2 separate regions of the Homo sapiens genome follow, and region 1 is linked to region 2. Evidence: promoter capture Hi-C in human tissues and cell types (Jung and others, 2019). All regions are on one chromosome and are shown on one strand. Each heading gives the region's core, a stretch centred on a gene start or on the middle of the fragment in contact. The rest is flanking DNA. Distances are from core to core; before and after follow the strand shown.

Region 1 (4,503 bases), core at 933-3,432, 590 kb after region 2:
ATTAGCCAGGCATGATGGTGTGTGCCTGTAGTACCAGTTACGCTGGAGGCTGAGGCGGGAGAATCACTTGAGCCCAGGCTCAAGGCTGCAGTGCGTTGATGGTGCCACTGCACTCCAGCCTGGATGACAGAGTGAGACTCTGTCTCTTAAAAAAAAAAATTCCAGATTGGAAATAGGTGCCCAGGGACACTGAGCTGAGGCTCTAGGGATCCCACTAAGGTCAGCAATTTTTATTTTATTTTTATTTATTGAGAAAACCCAATTTTCCAGGCCTCATATCCTTGACTTTTCAGCAGTATTCTCTATTTTAAAAACATACTTCTCTCCCTGACACAAACCTTTTACTTCTCCAATCAGTTTTTCCTCTGTCTGCACTGTAGGATTTTTTCTTATCTGCCCAGCTATTAAATATCATTAAGAGTTCCCCAGGCCCTTCCCTTCCCCCTTGTTCTCTCTCCTAGCAGGCTCTGCTGCCACAGCTTGAGTGACTGCATCTGACTCTTAGCCACTCTGGCCCAGAGTTCTCATCTGAGTTTCTGATCCATGGGTCTACCTGCCCCTCCGGCATCTCTTGAGTGTGTGTCCTAAAGGCACTGCATGCTGCTTGTGTCCACATCTGCATTGATGATTTCCCTCTGCATTCTTCCAAAATTCCCATGCCCAGTGATCCCTATGCAGGGAATGAAGTGCATCCATTCCAGTGCAAAGGTCAGAGATCTTTCGTTACCTACACACATCATCCATCAGTTTCACTTCCTGAACATCTCCTTACCCACTGTGTCTGGAATTGGTTCCTGCTGGTGGGTTCGTGGTCTGGCCGACTTCAAGAATGAAGCCGGGGACCTTCGCAGTGAGTGTTACAGCTCTTAAAGATGGCACAGACCCAAAGAGTGAGCGGTAGCAAGGTTTATTGTGAAGAGTGAAAGAACAAAGCTTCCACAGCATGGAAGGGGACCCAAGTGGGTTGCTGCTGCTGGCTGGGGTGGCCAGCTTTTATTCCCTTATTGTCCCCTCCTATGTTCCATTTCTGTCCTATCAGAGTGCCTTTTTTCAATCCTCCCCGTGATTGGCTACTTTTAGAATCCTTTCCCTTATTGGCCCCAAACTGGTGCTTTAGCTGCAAAGTGCTGATTGGTGTGTTTTACAGAGCGCTGATTGGTGCATTTTATGGAGTGCTGATTGGTGCATTTTACAATCCTCTTGTGAGACAGGGAAGTTCCCTAAGTCCCCACTCAACCCCGGAAGTCCAGCTGGCCTCACCTCCCACCACCTTCCTCCTTCTCCACCACCATGAGCCTCCTTCAGCTCTGGCTTGGAGAGTGACAGCCTCCTGACTGGGCTCCTGGCTCTGTCCTTATCTCCCAGCCTTCCCTTCTCCATGCAGCTATCTGTCAGCTTTTGAAAACATGAAGCAGGTCCTGTCACTTTCCCACTTACAACCCTTTACCAGCCTCTTCTTCCTCTTAGAATAAAGGCCCAGATGTTACCAAGGCCTAGGGGGCTCCTGCTGACCTCTCCTGCCTCAAGCTCCCTTCATTCTGCATTACAGCCACCTGGTCTTTCCTGGAATTCCCCAAGATCCTACTAATCACAGAGCTGTGCAAAGAGCCTAGGAGAGGCACCTGCTGGTATGTTTCCATATTATCATTTTATATTCATTTGTGAAATTCTTTGATGAATGCCTCTCTACAGTGCTTAGAATATAGAAACTTTCCTTTGCCCCATTTTAAGATTTGAGAATGCATGTGTCATGAAAGCTTCTCATCAGAGGCCCAGATCCTTCAGGTACCAGACCCCATGTATCCAGGCGGATCCCACCTGGGAGCCCAGGCAGCCCAGGGCTTCTGAAATAACAACACCTGGCCTGGCATGGTGACTCACGCCTGTAATCCCAGCACTTTGGGAGGCTGAGGCGGGTGGATCACCTGAGGTCAGGAGTTCGAGACCAGCCTGGCCAACATGGTGAAACCCTGTCTCTACTAAAAATACAAAAAAAAAAGTAGCCGGGCGTGGTGGCAGGCGCCTGTAATCCCAGCTACTTGGGAAACTGAGGCAGGAGAATTGCTCCAACCCAGGAGGTGGAGGTTGCAGTGAGCCGAGATCATGCCATTGCACTCCAGCCTGGGAGACAAGAGCGAGACTTTATCTCAAAAAATAAATAAATAAATAAATAAATAAATAAACAAAAACAAAAAAAAAACAAAACAAACAGAAATAGCAACACCTGATAGCATGTCCCTTCAGAGACCCTGCCCCAGCCATGAGGTCAGTGGCCATACCTGGCGTATGGAATACAAGTTCCATGAGGTCAGTGGCCACGCCTGGCATATAGAATATAAGTTCTTTGAGGTCAGTGGGCACACCTGGCATATGGAAGTGGCACAGTAAACATGTGTTGACCTCAGGCTCCTCTCAGGGAGGATGCCTCTGGGTTCAGGTCACTGAGTTTTGCAGGGGAGGTGCATATTGTCCTTGAGTGCCGGGTAAGGTTTGGGCACCTGGAGCACCAGGGGTCAGTGAGAGGGAGGCGAGAGGGCCTGGAACACAAGGCTCCAGGGAGGTGATGGCCACAGGGGAAGGGAAGAAATGCTGATTGAGGACTGGGCCTTGAATTGGGGAAAGAATTGTTTTATTTGCCACCCATATGAGAAAGGAGGAGGGGAGAGGCCTGCAGGAAAGGAGAGTCCACCTTGAGGATTTATTGCAAGGTGAGTGGCCCTATGTTCTCTGTAAATCACTACTACACACTTGGGACTGAGGCACATCGTTTTTAAGACATCTGCTGACTTGGACAATTATAGGGAGCCTTGAGGTCTTTTAGCAGGTGGGGTCTAACTGGCAGAAGCAACTGAGAGGCTCAAGGAGAGGAGAAGGCTTCTCCTCTGCGCTGTGCCCAGCATGGCTGGGACAGGGTCCCTGAGCCCCCAGCGGACATGCTATCAGGTGTTGCTATTTCAGAAGCCCTTGGGCTGCCTGGGTTCCTAAGTGGGATCCACCTGGATACATGGGGTCTGGTACCTGGAGGATCCAGGCCTCTGATGAGAAGCTTTCATGACACATGCATTCTCAAATCTTAAAATGGGGCAAGGGAAAGTTTCAGATCAGACAAGCTGGGCTGCAGCATGAAACCAAAAGAGATAGAGAGAGGCCCCAGGCTTAATGCCTGGTGGAGGCTCAGTCATGTCTGTTGAAACCTAGGATATTCATCTATGTAGGCAGATAGGAAACACAGGTGACCACCTTCCCAAACAAGCTGGGCACATGACAGAAGCAGAAAGCACCTTATCCTCTCCAGCAAACCATTCTTCGGACCCATTCTGCCCCGCAGAAAAACCCCAGGCAGCTCCCATCCTTTTCTGACCACTCTCATGTAATAAAATATCTAGCCCCATGTGATGTCAAACCTCAAGCTCTGTTCCATTGAAAATGTCTCTGCCAAGCCCATTCAGGCTGGGGAAGCTGCAAGGGCAGAGAACTGTCTCCTTCTCTTACTTCTCTGTTCACCTTTTCTCCCCAGGCTGCTCCAGGGGTGGAGGAGACAGGAAGAAAGCAGAGGGAGGCCAGGAAGGGCTAGCTTGACCTTTTGCAGCTGTATCTGGCATTAGTGCCCTTGGACATGGCAGATTGCAGAGTTAGTTCTGCCCTAGGAGTCTGTGGTTGCTCTGAAGCCTCTCGAATTGCTGAGGCTTCAGTCAACAGACGTGGCTGCCTCCTTGGCCTGGCCACATAAGATCTCTCAGGCTCCCATCAGCCCTCACCTCACCCCTTCTGAGTCTGCTTCTGCAGGTTCTGTATCTGGCCCCCACGCCCATCCCTGCTCCCCTAAACCCTGGAGGCACAGGCTCTTCTAAGACAGCCCCTCTTTACCCAGCCACTCCCTCTCACACAGGGGCTTTTTCAAGGGTGGGTCGGTCAATCCGTTCCTGTGTTCCTCAAATTTCAGGGGATGCCTGACACATTCTTTGATATCCCCTACAGCCCATTGATCACTTCCCTTCAGAGAAATCCTCACCATGTGCCCCATGCCCCTTCAGTCTCCCAAAGAGTTGGAGGTGGGTGATAGACTGAGGATGGCATGATTGATTTCACAGACCCTTACTCAAGTAGCACAGTGGTCCTGCATCCCAACTTAGGAAACAGTGTGTTTGGCACCTTCTGAATTGCTCTAGGACTTTAGGGGCTCTGCCCAGACAACAGGAAGAGTTACTTTTATCCTTCTATTTCATGAACATCATAAAAGGCAAGGAGGTGTAAAAAAGTGAGGGCAGGAGAGTTAGGCAAGTCCAGGAGAGAGTTCAGAGCAGGACAGGAGTCAATAGAAGTTGTTGAGAAGGAAGAGGGGCCAATGGGAGCCGTAGAGAGGACACTAAGCTGATATTTACATGGCACTTTGGCCCTGCGAAGGGTCTTACATCATCTCATTGAGATATTCAAAAATACTGGGGGAAGGATATTATTCCCATTTTAGCAATGAGAAAACTGAAGCCCCCCACAGGGCAAATG
Region 2 (3,887 bases), core at 1,240-3,739:
AATAATTTCCAAATTTTTCTAGCTCTGAAATAAGACTTTAAAACCCTGACGGATGCTAAAATGGGCCTTTGACACCACTCCCCTACCCCACCCCACAAAGTACTATAGTTATTTTTAGTATCTGATGGTCAAGCTTCACAGAAAGCTCTCAGTTTGGTAACAAGGAAGTAGCTCTGAATTTTAACCCTGACACTTTTATTCAGGTAGGATGTATGAGAAAATTTTCTTTTCTTTTCTTTTTTTTTTTGAGATGGAGTTTTGCTCTTGTCACCCAAGCTGGAGTGCAATGGCGCGATCTCAGCTCACTGCTACCTCCACCTCCCAGGTTCAAGCAATTCTCCTGCCTCAGCCTCCTGAGTAGCTGGAATCACAGGCGCCAGCTACCATGCCCAGCTAATTTTTGTATTTTTAGTAGAGATGGGGTTTCACCATGTTCGCTGGGCTGGTCTGAAACTCCTCACTCAGGTGATCTGCCCACCTTGGCCTCCCAAAGTGCTGGGATTACAGGTATGAGCCACTGCGCCCGGTCCACTTTAGTTTTCTTACTCTTCTGCCACTTCACACATAAAATCATGGTAAACATTTAGCTTGGTGGATTTCCCATGGAATGAATCATTTTAGATGAAGGTTTATTCCTTTATGTAACTCAACTTTATGAATTTTTGATGAAACTTTTTCTAAAGTGAAATACATGCTCTATTTTTATACAAAATTTAGTAAGTACCATATAACCTTTTCTTGAAAAGAGTCATCACCAGTAAAATCAATTGCTATATTGTGTTGTAAACACAGTAATGTTCTTTCTACACAGATGTCTGCAAACTATGGCCTGCAGGATGTTCTTGTAAGGCTTGGGAGGTAAGAATGGTTTTTACATTTAAAAAATGTTGTTAAAAAAAAATGTGACCTTGACCACATACGGCTTGCAAAGCCTAAAATATTTACTATCTGGCCCTTTACAGAAAAGTTTACTTACTCTTGCTCTAGAAAAAGATGTACAGGCCTCTTCAACAAATGTCTCCAACTAGATTCAATTTTATGCTCTGTCACCAAAGGAAAGTATTTTTATCTTGGCACAGTGTCTGACAGAATAGTTCTAATATTTGTGGAAAAATAAAGGTCATTGGTATTTAAAATTCTTTTGTTGCTTCTTCTCGTTACACAGTCTCCTACTCATCCTCAAGTTTTCGTCAGTCACTATAACTGCCTCTAGCAGTCTCTTCTCTAACTCCCACCTTTCTAATCTCAGTGGAAATTTGGTAACACAGCTTATAAATATTTTAAGGTAAGGTTAAATTGGTTACATGAAGACCCTAGACCTATTTTCTGAGTAGAATACAGGTGGTTTGGTGCAGCAATTTGGTGACTTATTTTGATTGTCCCAAAGCCTTTTTGTTTAGTTCCACGTTCTCTATTACCCTTTGGAAAAGCAACATTTCAGGACGAATGAGGTGTTACTGTAGCATACCTGATCATTTTTATAACACAAAGTAGCATTACAACTGAAAAGATATTCATCAAAAGACTGAACTGCAGTAATTGGAGTGGTAGGATTTTCTTGGAATATCTGAATTTATTACTAATTTTACAGTGAACATACATTACTTTTGTAATCAGAAAAGCTACCTTAATTTAAAAAAAAGAAAAATCAGAAGGATCTGTCTACTCAATCTTACTGACCTAACTCAACAATTTTCATTTGGCATATTTTCTATCATAATTTGATCATCGTTTTCAGAGGTTGTAAATACTGTGTTTATGTTTTTATTTTGATTCATACTTGGCTTGCTGAAAAATACGCTGTAAATATAAAATACTGCAGTAATGCCGACAATCAACATGGTGAAAGGTGACAGTCTTTTTGATTTCTGCTCAACTCATTATTTTATACAATAAGCTCAGACGAATAATACCCAATTTGGATAATGTTACGCTTGACAAAACACTTTACTTCATTTAGTCCTCACAACAACCCTGTGAGGTAGGCACATTCTCGGAGGTAAAATGACGTGGGCAAAGTTCCCTGGCTCGTTTGGGGAAAGGCTCAGCAGCCGGGCCAAGAAAGGTCTTTGGGGGCGCAAGTCTTTGGAGGGCAGGTCTTTGGGGAGCGCTTTGAGTAATATTAGAGCTTTCACTAAACCCTGGCCTATTACGTCCCCTCCCCTGAGATTTACCTTTATATACTCAAGTTCTTTCATGCCAGGAAGGTAGGCTGAAGGCTTCGAAAACCTGCAGCTCATACCCAAAGCTAGCACTGTCTATCCCTGGAGACCCAGCGCCCAAAAGCTCCACTGGGCGCATAGCGCACGGCACGCCTCCTCCCCCGAGCCGCAGACTGAGTAACTGGCCCCGGACTAACCTGACCAGGTCGGTCATGCAGGAGCCCACCACTACCACCGCCGCCACCTCCTCTTGCCACTGCCTCTGGGGTTCCCCAGACGCCGCCATCGCTCAAAGGTGCTGCTGTCCAACCTGGACGGTGACCTCTGCCCTTTGCCCGACCCCGTAACCAGAGACGCCACTCCTGCCCTCCCTAACGACGCGGGCCTTTCAGACGCCTACGCGGGTCGCCCACCTGACTGCCCGAAATCACCCCGCCCACCAAGTGTCCCCTCTTCTTCCTGGAATAGTCTCGGTGCACAGCCTCACGTAACAGGGCCCTCCTGATATGGCGAGACTCCGCGCTCCTCGTCACTCACGGGGCAGGCGCTGAGGAAGGAACTGTCAGGCACCGCGGGGACGCCTTTCCGAGCGCCCGGCTCGGCGCGGCGCGGGGGCGCGCACGCCGCCCAGCTTCGGGGCCGCAGAGGGGGCGGGGCGGGACGTCCGGGGAGTGCGCACGCATCCTGCCCGCGGCGCGCGCGCAGGTCGGTGCGTCTGTCGGGGGCGCGCTCGGGTACCTGTACCCCACGTAGTCGCCGGTTACCGATCGGACTAAGTTCCAGGTACCTGGACTGGGGCTGGTGCGGGGAGGTTGGATCCCGAGTCGCACAGGTGGCGTGGAGAACTGTGGTTTAAATATGGCCAGGGGACTCGCCTCCTCTTCCTATGGAGAAGGCCCCCGTTCCAAAGATGCCCTTCTCATCCCCATCACGCTGATTCCCTCAAGAACGAGCCCCCAAGGCCAGAGGCGTCTCTTTCTCCATATCTGGCCCATCCCCTGGTTCCTGTAAACCCCGAGTATTAGTTCCTTGTTGCCTGATGAGGGGAATCATACAGTTTGGAAGAGGGGAGAGTGTCCCTTTTTAAGACGTCCCCTAGAGTGGGGTGGTCATTCTTCGGGTCTGAGCTAACTTGTTTTTCTCGAATGTTGCCCCTTGGGGGAAATTGCTTCCCCAGTGTAACTTCCCTCGTGCGCTGTATGACGTCGACGTGACGCAGCAGGATGCCACCCCTTTCCGTTCCATGACGTCAGCAGGGCACATGTTTCCGTGTTTGTCATCTCATTTTAATTGCAAGAACCTGGATGGTGCTTTAGACGTCTTTGTAATCCCCAGGCCTCTCATCAAAGGACCTTTTGTAACTTTATTTTGGGGTAGCAGACCCTTGCAAAAATTGTAATTTTGCATTTTCCTTTTGCAATACGTCAAAATCAGGAAATACAAATTGCAGTAGTAGTATTCAGGGGACTCTGACCACCGTAAATATTTGTATATCTGGGGTGTATTATAGTGCTGCCATGCGTAAGAGTTACTACCGGTGGTGACTCCCTGTCCATGTACCCGGTTCACTGCACCAAAGGACCAGTGTTTTTGGCTAAGTGACTTCTGATTTTGGAGTCATTGTGTTCCACTCCCCACCCCCCGCCCTTTTTTTTTAGAGAAGTCACACCTCCTCATGGTTGAAATAGATTTTAATACTGCGTGAAACCTTGCACTGTTAAAACA

The links. Contacts are between HindIII fragments. The study calls those that stand out against the background at their distance.
Region 1: a fragment that was not itself captured here is called in contact with the fragment with the promoter of RBKS in region 2 in 1 of the 25 tissues and cell types used here (spleen).

The regions. Positions count from the first base shown.
Region 1 is chr2:28,474,152-28,478,654 of GRCh38, forward strand. No RefSeq gene overlaps it. Among named protein-coding and RNA genes, the nearest start is that of PLB1, 20 kb to the right of the region's middle. RefSeq lists an enhancer at 3,062-3,111. The HindIII fragment of the contact is 3,963 bases long and covers 202-4,164 here.
Region 2 is chr2:27,887,898-27,891,784 of GRCh38, forward strand. RBKS (ribokinase) reads right to left here and starts at 2,490. Exons shown (of 8, transcript NM_022128.3): 1 at 2,360-2,490. The coding sequence starts at 2,448. BABAM2 (BRISC and BRCA1 A complex member 2) reads left to right here and starts at 2,832. Exons shown (of 12, transcript NM_199191.3): 1 at 2,832-2,945. It overlaps BABAM2-AS1 (BABAM2 antisense RNA 1), which reads right to left and starts at 3,217. Exons shown (of 1, transcript NR_028308.1): 1 at 1,559-3,217. RefSeq lists a silencer at 2,678-2,957. The HindIII fragment of the contact is 18,364 bases long and covers 1-3,887 here.